Regions from separate parts of the Homo sapiens genome. Here regions 1, 2 and 4 are each linked to region 3. Evidence: promoter capture Hi-C in 16 types of primary human blood cells and fetal thymus (Javierre and others, 2016). All regions are on one chromosome and are shown on one strand. The core of a region is centred on a gene start or on the middle of the fragment in contact, and the rest is flanking DNA. Distances in the headings are between cores, read along the strand shown.

Evidence for each region. Contacts are between HindIII fragments. The CHiCAGO score rates a contact against its expected background, and 5 or more counts as called.
Region 1: a fragment that was not itself captured here is called in contact with the fragment with the promoter of PLN in region 3 in 1 of 17 cell types (activated CD4 T cells); the score reaches 5.1 in activated CD4 T cells.
Region 2: a fragment that was not itself captured here is called in contact with the fragment with the promoter of PLN in region 3 in 3 of 17 cell types (activated CD4 T cells, naive B cells and total B cells); the score reaches 8.4 in activated CD4 T cells.
Region 4: a fragment that was not itself captured here is called in contact with the fragment with the promoter of PLN in region 3 in 1 of 17 cell types (endothelial precursors); the score reaches 5.1 in endothelial precursors.

Annotation. Positions count from the first base shown.
Region 1 is chr6:118,765,712-118,768,411 of GRCh38, forward strand. No RefSeq gene overlaps it. Among named protein-coding and RNA genes, the nearest start is that of CEP85L, 120 kb to the left of the region's middle. The HindIII fragment of the contact is 833 bases long and covers 952-1,784 here.
Region 2 is chr6:118,790,886-118,793,585 of GRCh38, forward strand. No RefSeq gene overlaps it. Among named protein-coding and RNA genes, the nearest start is that of ASF1A, 100 kb to the right of the region's middle. The HindIII fragment of the contact is 1,386 bases long and covers 579-1,964 here.
Region 3 is chr6:118,547,039-118,549,738 of GRCh38, forward strand. It overlaps PLN (phospholamban), which reads left to right and starts at 1,258. Exons shown (of 2, transcript NM_002667.5): 1 at 1,258-1,354. The region is part of intron 3 of CEP85L (centrosomal protein 85L); the gene reads right to left. The HindIII fragment of the contact is 6,726 bases long and covers 1,014-2,700 here.
Region 4 is chr6:118,327,630-118,330,329 of GRCh38, forward strand. No RefSeq gene overlaps it. Among named protein-coding and RNA genes, the nearest start is that of PLN, 220 kb to the right of the region's middle. The HindIII fragment of the contact is 954 bases long and covers 866-1,819 here.

The DNA.
Region 1 (2,700 bases), core at 118-2,617, 220 kb after region 3:
TATACCCAAAGGAATATAGATCATTGTACCAAAAAGACACATGAACTCGTATATTCATTGCTGTTCTATTCACAATAAAAAAGGCATGGAATCAACTAGGTGCCCATCAATAGTGGATTGGATAAAGAAAATGCGGTACATATACACCATGAAATACTATGCAGATGGAAAAAAGAATGAAATGATGTCCTTTGCAGGAACGTGGATGGAGCTGGAGGCCATTATCCTAAGCAAATTAACATAGGAACAGAAAACCAAATACTACATGTCCTCACTTGTAACTGGGAGTGAAACATTGAGCACACATGGACATAAACATGGGAACAATAGACACTGTGGACTATTAGAGGCACGAGGGAGGGAGAGGGGCGTGGATTGAAAAACTACTGTTGGGTGCTATGCTCATTACCTGGGTCCAATATCCCCATGTAACAGTCCTACACTGGTACCCCCCATATCTAAAATTAAAGCTGAAATTTTAAAACAAAAAAACAACCAAATTACCACAAATTCAGTAGCTTAAATCAACACTATTTATGTTATAGTTCTGGAGGTCAGAAGTCCACAATGGGGCAACAGTCTGGTTCCTTGTGAAGACTTCAGGGACAATCTGTTTCTCTGTCTTTTCTAGTTTCTAGAGGCCGCCTCTATCCCTTGGTTTATGTCCCCTTATCACGTCGACCTCTGTCTCTGTCATCACATCTCCTTCTCTGACTTGGGCCCTTCTGCCTTTCCTCTGTAAAGACCCTTGTGAATATATTAGGCCCATGCAGATAATTCAGGAAAAATCTCATCATCTCAAATTCCTTGATTTAATTGCATCTGCAAAGTTGCTTTTGCTATGCAAAGAAACATAGTCACAGGTTCTGGGAACTAAGATGTGGACATCCTTTAGGGGCCATTGTTCTGCCTCCCACACCTTATCTACTTGGTTATTTGTAAGTCTAGATAAGCTTCCCTGCTCTGGGGTCCTAACTGACTCAGTTTGCATCCTCCCTCTGTGTTCAACATAGTACATGGTAGGCACTCCGCACATATTATTGGAACTTACTAAAGAGCCCAGGTATGGGGTGAGGCGCTAGACTAGAATGATAGTGTTAGGGGGAAAGGAGGCTAGAGAGGACGTTTGTGGCATCTGAAGGAACCAGCGATAAGACCCTCTCTGTGCCAAGAATCAGTGATGAAAGACTGAGCTGACTGGAGGACTGTGTCCTGTCTCGATGACGGGGATGGGACTAGGAGCAGGCATGAACCAAGGTAGTTGAATGAAATGCTTTAGAAAGTACTTGCCCTCCTGATGTGCCTCATGTGTGCCTCAATGTGTAAAACCCATTTTACAAAAGATTGTAAAATGTTTTAAATAGGAGAATTTTGGTGAAATACTAGGCAACCACTGTATGATCCCACTTGGGAATATCCTATCCTAGGTGAACACATTCAGTAAGGCAACCAAGCAATTCCAAAGCTCTATGTTAGGCCAACAAGAAGGGGGCCAGCAGATTTTTAGATAAATGAGAACTGGCCAATCTGCAGACGCTCTCAGTTGAGAGTTCAAGAAGCAGAGGATCAAAGAAATAAAGTACTCATCCCCTGCCAGTGGTTGGAGCTGCTGGGAAGATAACCTTGCCCAGGCCCGGAGGTCCCAGAACTAGCAGCTCCGCTCAGCCTCTTCCATGGTGTTTAACTCCAACTATCTAGCAATTATTTGACAGGTAACATCCCTTAGAAAGGCTGATTCTAGTGTACTGATTGTATTCCTAGTTAAAAGGACCACACACCTTCAAAGCTTGGACCTGAAAAACACCATCCCTTGTATCAAGATGGTAGGAACCGGAAGGTTATGCCATATTTCAGTTCGACTGTGGCACCCTCGCCATAAGCATCTGCTGTGAGAGCTGATTGTCCACAGTGGGCCTGATAAAGTGACAGTGGAATATCCATAAGAATGGTCCAGGAGGCTGTTCAAGCTAAGGAATCAGAACGTAGGTGCATGGCAGGGCTGGAGATGGTGTTTTCAGAGCCATCAGAACATAGTGAATAAAGAAGGTGGGAACGCTCTAAGGAGGGAGAATCTACAGAGAAAAACAGATGAAGTTAGAGTGAAGAGAGATAATCTAGAAAGATAAAGGAGGCCAAACAAAGAGGTTGAGTGAGATGATAAGGAATATAACGTACAGAAACCAAACAAAAAGGTAGGTTCCGGTGGGAAGGATCAGATGTCACAATTCCCACTGGCGTCTTGCTGAACAGGGCTTTGATCACCCTGTCACCCTAAGATCCAGAGCATTCGCCTCCAGCTCCAAAGCCCTCTGGCCCTACAGCTAGAGTGAAGGGGCTCTTTGTTGCCGTCCCATCTACAGCCCCTCTCTGCCCCCGCACTCCCCATTGCACATAACTGCTGTGACGAGACTCCCTCTTGTATCTAGTTGCATAACTTTGGGTGCTGACTTATCCCAATGCCTGTGTGGTCTCTAGTGAGTCTGAGCGTTCAACTTTCTTTTCTTTCTTTTTTTTCCTTGATACATGATCTCACTCTGTCACCCAGGCTGGAGTGCAGTGGCATGACCACAGCTCACAGCATAGCAGCCTCAAACTCCCAGGCTCAAGTGATTCTTCCACCTCAGCCTCCTCAGTAGCAGGGACTACAGGCATGTGCCAGCATGCCCAGCTAAGTTTTCATTTTTTGTTAGAGACAGGGTC
Region 2 (2,700 bases), core at 22-2,521, 240 kb after region 3:
CTCTGAATTGCCTATAATTACCGGAAGGCCTCATGTTTCACACTAATAATTCCAGCATTAGTGGGAAGCTCAGAAGACATAAGGAAAGACAGAATTCATTATTAATGAAAGTACTGCCGCCCTCGGAGGAAACATGTGTGTCTAATGCCCAACTGACTTCATCTTTTCGTCAATAAGTCCATGCTCTCTCATCATTGATGGCATCTATTGGTCGGCTCACTGGAGAGGACCACAGCTAATTAACAAACACACTTTGGCCTTAATGAAGCTGCTGTTTCCGGTCTATGATACTACTTCAAGGGTACTACATCAATATAAATTCAGACTTTTCCTGCTTTCTTGATTTTACTCTTATTATAGAACTAAATTCCGATTATTTCTTTTAAAAGATGATTCAATTAAGCTCCCCATATCTAATGAAATGCACACATTCTCACATATTTTATATTTTAACATGAGATGAATTCACTTAAAAGAGTAATTTGTTTTTTGCCTCCTCCTCCTGCTTCTTCTTAACTGGGGGTCTGTGAATGAATTCGTTTTCTAGGCCTGCCATAATAAAGTACTACAGCCTGGGAAGCTTCACCTCCAGAAATTCATTTTCTCACGGGCTGGGACGCTAGAAGTCTGAGATCAAGGTGTTGGCAGGGATCACTCCTTTTGAGGGCTGCGAGGGAAAGAGCTGCTCTAGGCCCCTCGCCTTGGCTTACAATTGCTGTCTTCTTCCTGTGTCTTCGCATTGTGTATTAGTCTGTTCTCACATGCCTAATAAAGACATACCCAAGACTGGGTGATTATAAAGGAAAGAGGTTTAATTGACTCACAGTTTCACATTGCTGGGGAGGCCTCACAATCACGGCAGAGGGCAAGGAGGAGCAAGTTACATCTTACTTGGCAGCAGGGAACAGAGAACTTGTGCAGGGGAGCTCCTCTTTATAAAACCATCACATCTCATAAGACTTATTCACCATCAAGAGAACAGCACAGGAAAGACCGCCCCCATGATTCAATTACCTCCCACTGGGTCCATCCCACATCACATGGGAATTGTGGGAGCTACAGTTCAAGGTGAGATTTGGGTGGGGACACAGCCAAACCATACCACATAGTCTTTCCTCTGTAGGTGTCTGTGCCAAATCTCCTATTCTCATAAAGACACCAGTCATATTAGATCAGGGCCCACCCTAATGACCTCACTTTAATTCCTCTGTAAAGACCCTATCTCCAAATGCAGTCACATTCTGAGGTACTGGGGGTTAGGACTTCAATGTATTAATTTAGGGAAGTGGCGGGGAAGGAGGGAGTTGTTAGACCATTCTTGCATTGCTATAAAGGAATACATGAGGCTGGGTAATTTATAAAGAAAAGAGAGTTAATTGGCTCACAGTTCTGCGGGCTGTTTAGGAAGCATGGCACAGGCATCTGCTTGGCTTCTGGGGAAGCCTCAGGGAGCTTTCATTCATGGCAGAGGTGAAGCAGCATGCCACATGGGGAGAGCAAGGGGAGGGAGGAGCCACACGCTTTTCAACAATCAGATCTCATGATAACTCACCATCGTGGGGACAGCACCAAGCCACAAGGAATCTGCCCCCATGACCCAAACACCTTCCACCAGGCCCCACCTCCAACACTGGGGATTACAATCCAACATGAGATCTGGGTGGGACAAACATCCCAACTATAGCAGGGGGACAAAATTCATTGCATAATGATGAAGAGGAGGTGAGATTTCCAAGGAGAGACAATGGAATGCATCGTTAGGGGCACCTTCTCTGGAGTCAGATCATATGTGTCAGACCCTAACCCGCTTCTCACCTATGTAATCTTGGGCAAGTTTTCTTTTCTGCCCTTCGGTTCCCCTTTCTTTAAAATGGGTTCATAATGATACCTTCTGCAGGGAGCTTTTGTGAAGATCAAATAAATGCTTTTTACACGAAAGCCCTCTGTTTATTACAATAATTTCAAGCTTTTCCCTTAAAATGCTTAAAGGGTGCTTATGCATTCCCCTCATAAGGGAAGTGAATAGTGTGTTGACACGCCATAAAAATGTAAAACGTATCTTTATATGTGTGGTGAGGTGAATTGAGATGTCTATTTTAAAATTGTATTTTATAATCACAATTTTCTTTTTTTCTTTTTTGGTGAGACAGAGATTTACTCTTGTTGCCCAGGCTGGAGTGCAATGGCGTGATCTCGGCTCACCGCATCCTCTGCCTCCCAGTTTCAAGCGATTCTCCTGCCTCAGCCTCCCAAGTAGCTGGGATTACAGGCATGTGTCACCAAGCCCGGCTAATTTTGTATTTTTAGTAGAGACAGGGTTTCACCATGTTGCCCAGGCTGATCTTGAACTCCTGACCTCAGGTAATCCGCCCGCCTCGGCCTCCCAAAGTGTTGGGATTACAGGTGTGAGCCATTGCGCCCGGCCCATAATTTTCTTTTATACTCAAAACTTATAATACCCCTTGTGTTAGGGCATGAAATGGATTGTGGGCCATACGTGGCAGATTTCAGTCGAGACTCTACCCTGCCAGCCTTCTCAGCCAACCCCTACCTCTTCTCCCCCATCTGAACCAGAGGCAGCTTTCAATTGTGGGCCTAGTTCTTTCTGAGCAAACCTGGTCCAAGATCAGGTTCTCCAAATTCAGATGCCTGCCTTTATTTTTACAATGAAAACCTAATTCTGGACCAGCGTTATTCTGT
Region 3 (2,700 bases), core at 8-2,507:
CAGCTGCTGCTACACATTTTAGTTACCCATAAGAAAGTGAAGTGGGCTAAGTTCACTCTGTCATAAGCATTTAAAAAATTAAAAATTACAAGTACCTCCTCTAAAATTAAAGAAGAGATTTAAGAATTAATATTTTCGAGTGTGGTGACTTAAGTAAATCTAACATCTAAGACAACAAATTAGATAAACAGAGAAGAGGAGAATGATGCCCGGCTTTACAAAAAAATTATTTCCCCAGTTCTACTGTAAGATAAACTGTTCTAGGAAGTTCAAAATATCATCTCACTTACTAGCATCTCATTTTTATAGTAATTTTCAGGAAAGCAACTGCTAGATTAAATGAGGCACATCCTTTCAAAAACATTACAAAACTTAAATTTCAACACATCAAACCTATAAAGCCTCATTAACTGAGATGTAACTGATTTGGAATCTGTAATTATTTCTTTTTTGCCATAAAGTTGCCCTTAATACTGCATCAGTTTATTAAAAATTTGGTAAGATTGTGTAATAATTTAATGCAATTGTTTTTAAAAAATCTTAAATACTTAAAGTAGCATATTGCTATTTTGGGGGTGTTGTATGTATCAGTTTAAATATAAGTATTACTATTCACAAATATATTGTTAAACTGCTAATTGAAGAAAACACAAATGAATTAAATACATTTATTAGTTCTTTAACTGTAAGATAAAAATAATTTTTTAAAACAAAAAGCAATTAGCCTGATTTTCTCATACTCCTTCTCCCATACACACAAGAACAAGAACAAAATAAGAAAACAGGTATAAAATTTTATTGTGTAAAAATATTTCACTTTCACTAAAAGCTAACATTATGAAGACACGTATTAAAGCAACAGCAGCAAGAATTCAATGAAAGTTGTTTTGCTTATACCTGTGTTTATTTTTCTCATAATTAAAATTCCTGCAGTAACTATTTTAGCTCTTCAACATCTTCACCATTAATATTCAATTATCTCTAAGCCTGAAGATGCATGAATCTTTAACAAAAGCTTTCCACCACCTCAAGTTTACTTATTTTTTTCATTTATCTACCATATACTGTTTTAAATTAAAAACAAAAGATGAAGCACAAAGTGTTAATGACTTTTCCATACCTAAAGTAAGAAGTTCTAAAGTTTGGTTGTGATAAGACTGAGACTGTGGCTAACCAATCGAAACTTCAGAATTCCTATGTGACATCATAAGACCTCCCTAGAACACTTTTTCTCCTCCACCTACTGCAACTGTTCCCATAAACTGGGTGACAGAGTCAGAAAACTCCCCAGCTAAACACCCGTAAGACTTCATACAACACAATACTCTATACTGTGATGATCACAGCTGCCAAGGTAAGAAACAGATTTCGCTGACTTTGGTAATTCTTACTTTCTATAATTCTTAATTCCTATAATTTCTATAATCTGAACTTTTAAAATGAGTTAATTTTATGAATATCAGTTCAATCTTAGGCAATAAAATGACATGACAAAGTGCTTAAATTTATAAATGCTTATCCATTTAGTGACAGGAAAAATGAGACAACTTTGAAATGAAAAAGGTCATATTCATCTTTGATCCTGGTTACTGGTTTGTCATTTAAATTTATCTTTCACTTTTATTTTGCTTTTCAAATGTGAATTTCTGCCAATTAAAAAATCTTCCAATTATGTTACCATATTTGGTAGTAGTGGTTAATTTCTCCATGCAAAAACAATGACTTAATTTTGTTATTTATTGCTCTGCTGAGAAACAGTGCAGAACTGAGCTATTTACATCTGAACTAATATGAATAGTCATTTGACTACAACATGCACATTATCAGCATGCCTATTCCAATATTATCATAATTTCATACAGTGAATAATGAAATGGAGTTTCAGAATATATAATACAAGCTACTTTTAAAGTGCCCTTGAGGATGTTTCCCCTCTAAAGTCCAGTCAACTTTTAACAAACATTTCTAAAAAAATTCCATGCTATTAATAAATTGAGTTACTGATATTAAATTCAATATTGTATCATAAAGAAGTTTAGAAATTTTAAAACAATGTTCACAAACACAAAAAATCTGACGTTAGAGAATAATTTGATACTTTAAAAAGTTATTTTGACACACGAATATTCTTAACTATCTTATTTTCACACAAATTTGATTAAATGGATTTCTGCCTATTAATGCCTATAGTTTTGTCAAGTTATTATCCTCCAGTGGTACTCCATTTCCTCTCTCGGATTTAGAAAGAAAGGAAAAAATAAAATAAATGCCAGGAATGGAGATGCCACAATCAATTTTATGACTTCTGTTTGAATTCTACCCTATTCTTTATGTTACAATCCTCAATTTAGTAAATGAAACGTTTCCTCATTCTTAGATCTCTGTCAGGGCATACAGAAAATTACATATATTTTATTTATTTTGATTTTCATATTTCATATATATGTTAAAATAAAATTTATCTCTAAAATTCTCAATTCCTATGACAAATGTTAATTCTATTGCTCACTACAAATAAGAACTTTGTAACTCTGTAAGCAGCTTTCCTTAAGACATAAAAAAACATAATTTTTGTCTACCACTGAGGTATCCTAATTGTGTCTCCATATCTCTATACTCATATTTTTCCTTTGATAGTACATAAAAGTCATTCAGTGTAGGTGTCTTATGTTATTTGTGCATTTTTATTCAAATATCTAT
Region 4 (2,700 bases), core at 93-2,592, 220 kb before region 3:
ATGAAAGAGTACCCAGGACGTCAAGGGATCTCAACAAACATCAATTGAATGAGTGGATGAATTCACGAATGAACAAATGAATGACATTCAAAAGCCCTGACCATGGCACACAAGGGCCAGCATGACAGAATCACCACCTTGTTCTCCAGCCTCACCTCCCATGTCTCTCTACTTTGCTTTTGCACCTCCGTGAAATTGGCTTTCTTTTAGTTCATTGAACACATCCTGCTTCTTCCTGCTCCAAGGCCATGGCACTTGTTTTCTCCCCTGCTGGAAGACTCTCCCTTCCTCTCCTTTTGCCTAGATAATTCCCACTCATCCTTGGGAGCTCAGGTTAAACATCACTTATTAGAGAAACCTTCCCTGGCTCCCAGGAGAGATGCAGGTCTAGTCCACTGGTGCATGCTTCCATGGCTTTCTGACTTCTTAGCTCTTGTTTCCCTTCTAAAGACTGCCTGGCCAGGGTAGCTCACACCTGAAATTGCAGCACTTTGGGAGGCCGAGGTGGGCAGATCACGAGGTCAGGAGTTTGAGACCAGCCTAGCCAACATGGTGAAACGCCATCTCTACTAAAAATACAAAAATTAGCCAGCTGTGGTGGCAGGCACCTATAATCCCAGCTACTCGGGAGGCTGAGGCAGGAGAATTGCTTGAACTCAGGACGCAGAGGTTGCAGTGAGCCGAGATCGCACCACTGCACTCCAGCCTAGGTGACAGAGCAAGACTCCGTCTAGAAAAAAAAAATATATATATGTATCTATATATAGACTGGCTAATGTCAGTATCCTCCCTCCCAACCCTGTGGAAAATGCAGCCCATTAGGCACAATCTGGCACAGTGTCTGACCTGGAGCAGACACCCAGCAAGCTTTGTTGAATGAAAAAGGAAGACATGTTAGACTTGTTCAGTCTACAAAGGTTAAAACTAGAACCAAGAACAGGAAGTTCAGGAAGACAAATTTCAGCTCAACATAAAGAAGGACTTCCTAAAAGTCACAGCTGACCCCAGTATGGGGTGGCCTGTCTCAGGTGGTGGAACATGCAGGAAGGAAGCTGATAGAAACCAAGAATCAGATGGGACTTTGGACCTGATCCATGGTTTCTACACTGAGTCTCAGGATGTGCGGACAGTCTTGAAGTCTGCCTTAAGGTTTTCTGGCACTGCAGATTTTGCCTCTCTCTGTCTTTAGAGAAAAGAATGTAAATTTCTGTGGAAGAGAAACTGTGGGCTTCAAAATTGAACACACAGTGTATCTTATTATACTTGTTTAATTATCCATATTCTCCACTAGAGTATAAACTCTGTAAGACTGGAAGGAACATGAGACAGTTGTTTTTGTCTGAAGCAACAGAAACAATTCTAACTATATTAAGGAAAAAGGGATTCATTGGAAAGTTTCTGACTCAGAGGTAGAATTTTGACCGCATTTATGCTCCTGGTACCACCTTAAATGTCTTTGAAAGACAAAACCTGGCACATAATCACTAGGAAGCATTTTTTTAAAAAAAACAAAAACAGATTATTTTAAAAATTATTTACCCCCTTCATAATATAGGGAGGTGAATGACTAACTTTTAACCAATAAACCCATGGCCATTTACTGAAATCTGGGCACAGAGAACAATCTATAGAGAAGAAGAAAATATTTCTATGTGAAAAATATGAAGTAAGATGATACTGTTGATGAAGACTATCTCTTAAAGAAATTACTCAGCCAGAACATCAAATTCTGATAAAAAGGAAAATCAGAAAACAATTCATCTTGGGCCTGGACAATGGACTCTATACTTACTTAAAAGTGAAATAACCCTTGAAATCAAGCTTGCAACTTATTTTTAAATAAAATGAATGCAAACATTAATAAGGAAGCTGCCTGAACATGATATAAAATATTCTTATTGAATAGATATTTCTAGATTCTCTTGAATGCAGCACAATGTACATTCTAGAAACAATAATGTCTGAAGCATTATGTTCTTTCGTGGTTGAAGCGTGGATGTTCTTTCATGATAAAGCTTCAGTTATTACAGTCCTGCCATAGTAGGCGTGCAATTCACTAAGTTGGGATTGAATCTTTTCCCTAAGTGATGAAGTCTTAAAAAAACAAACAAACAAACAAAACAAAAAACCAAAGAGACAGGATTTCCTAATAATATAAACTTTCCAGCACTATTGATGAAGAATAGTTGAGGGTTTGTTAGCTTAACTATCATATAAAATAAACACACTTTCATATTGAAAAATAAGGTTCTGTAAAAGAGTTAATAAAAATTCTTAAACACAAATTTTAAGAAGCATTTTCATTTCTTTTGTGACTCATGAGTGTTAGCCCCACTGTATTAGTCAGGGTTCTCTAGAGGGACAGAGCTGATAGGATATATATATATATATATAGGATGTGTATATATATATATGATGTGTGTATATATATATATAGGATGTATATATATATATAGGATGTGTATATATATATAGGATCTGTATATATATATATAAGTTTATTAAGTATTAACTCACACAATCACAAGGTCCCACAATAGGCCATCTGCAAACTGAGGAACAAGGAAGCCAATCCAAGTCCCAAAGCTGAAGAACTTGGAGTCTGATGTTCAAGGTTAGGAAGCATCCAGCATGGAAGAAAGAGGTAGGCTGGGAGGCTAGGCCAGTCTAGCCTTTTCACGTTTTTCTGCCTGCTTTATA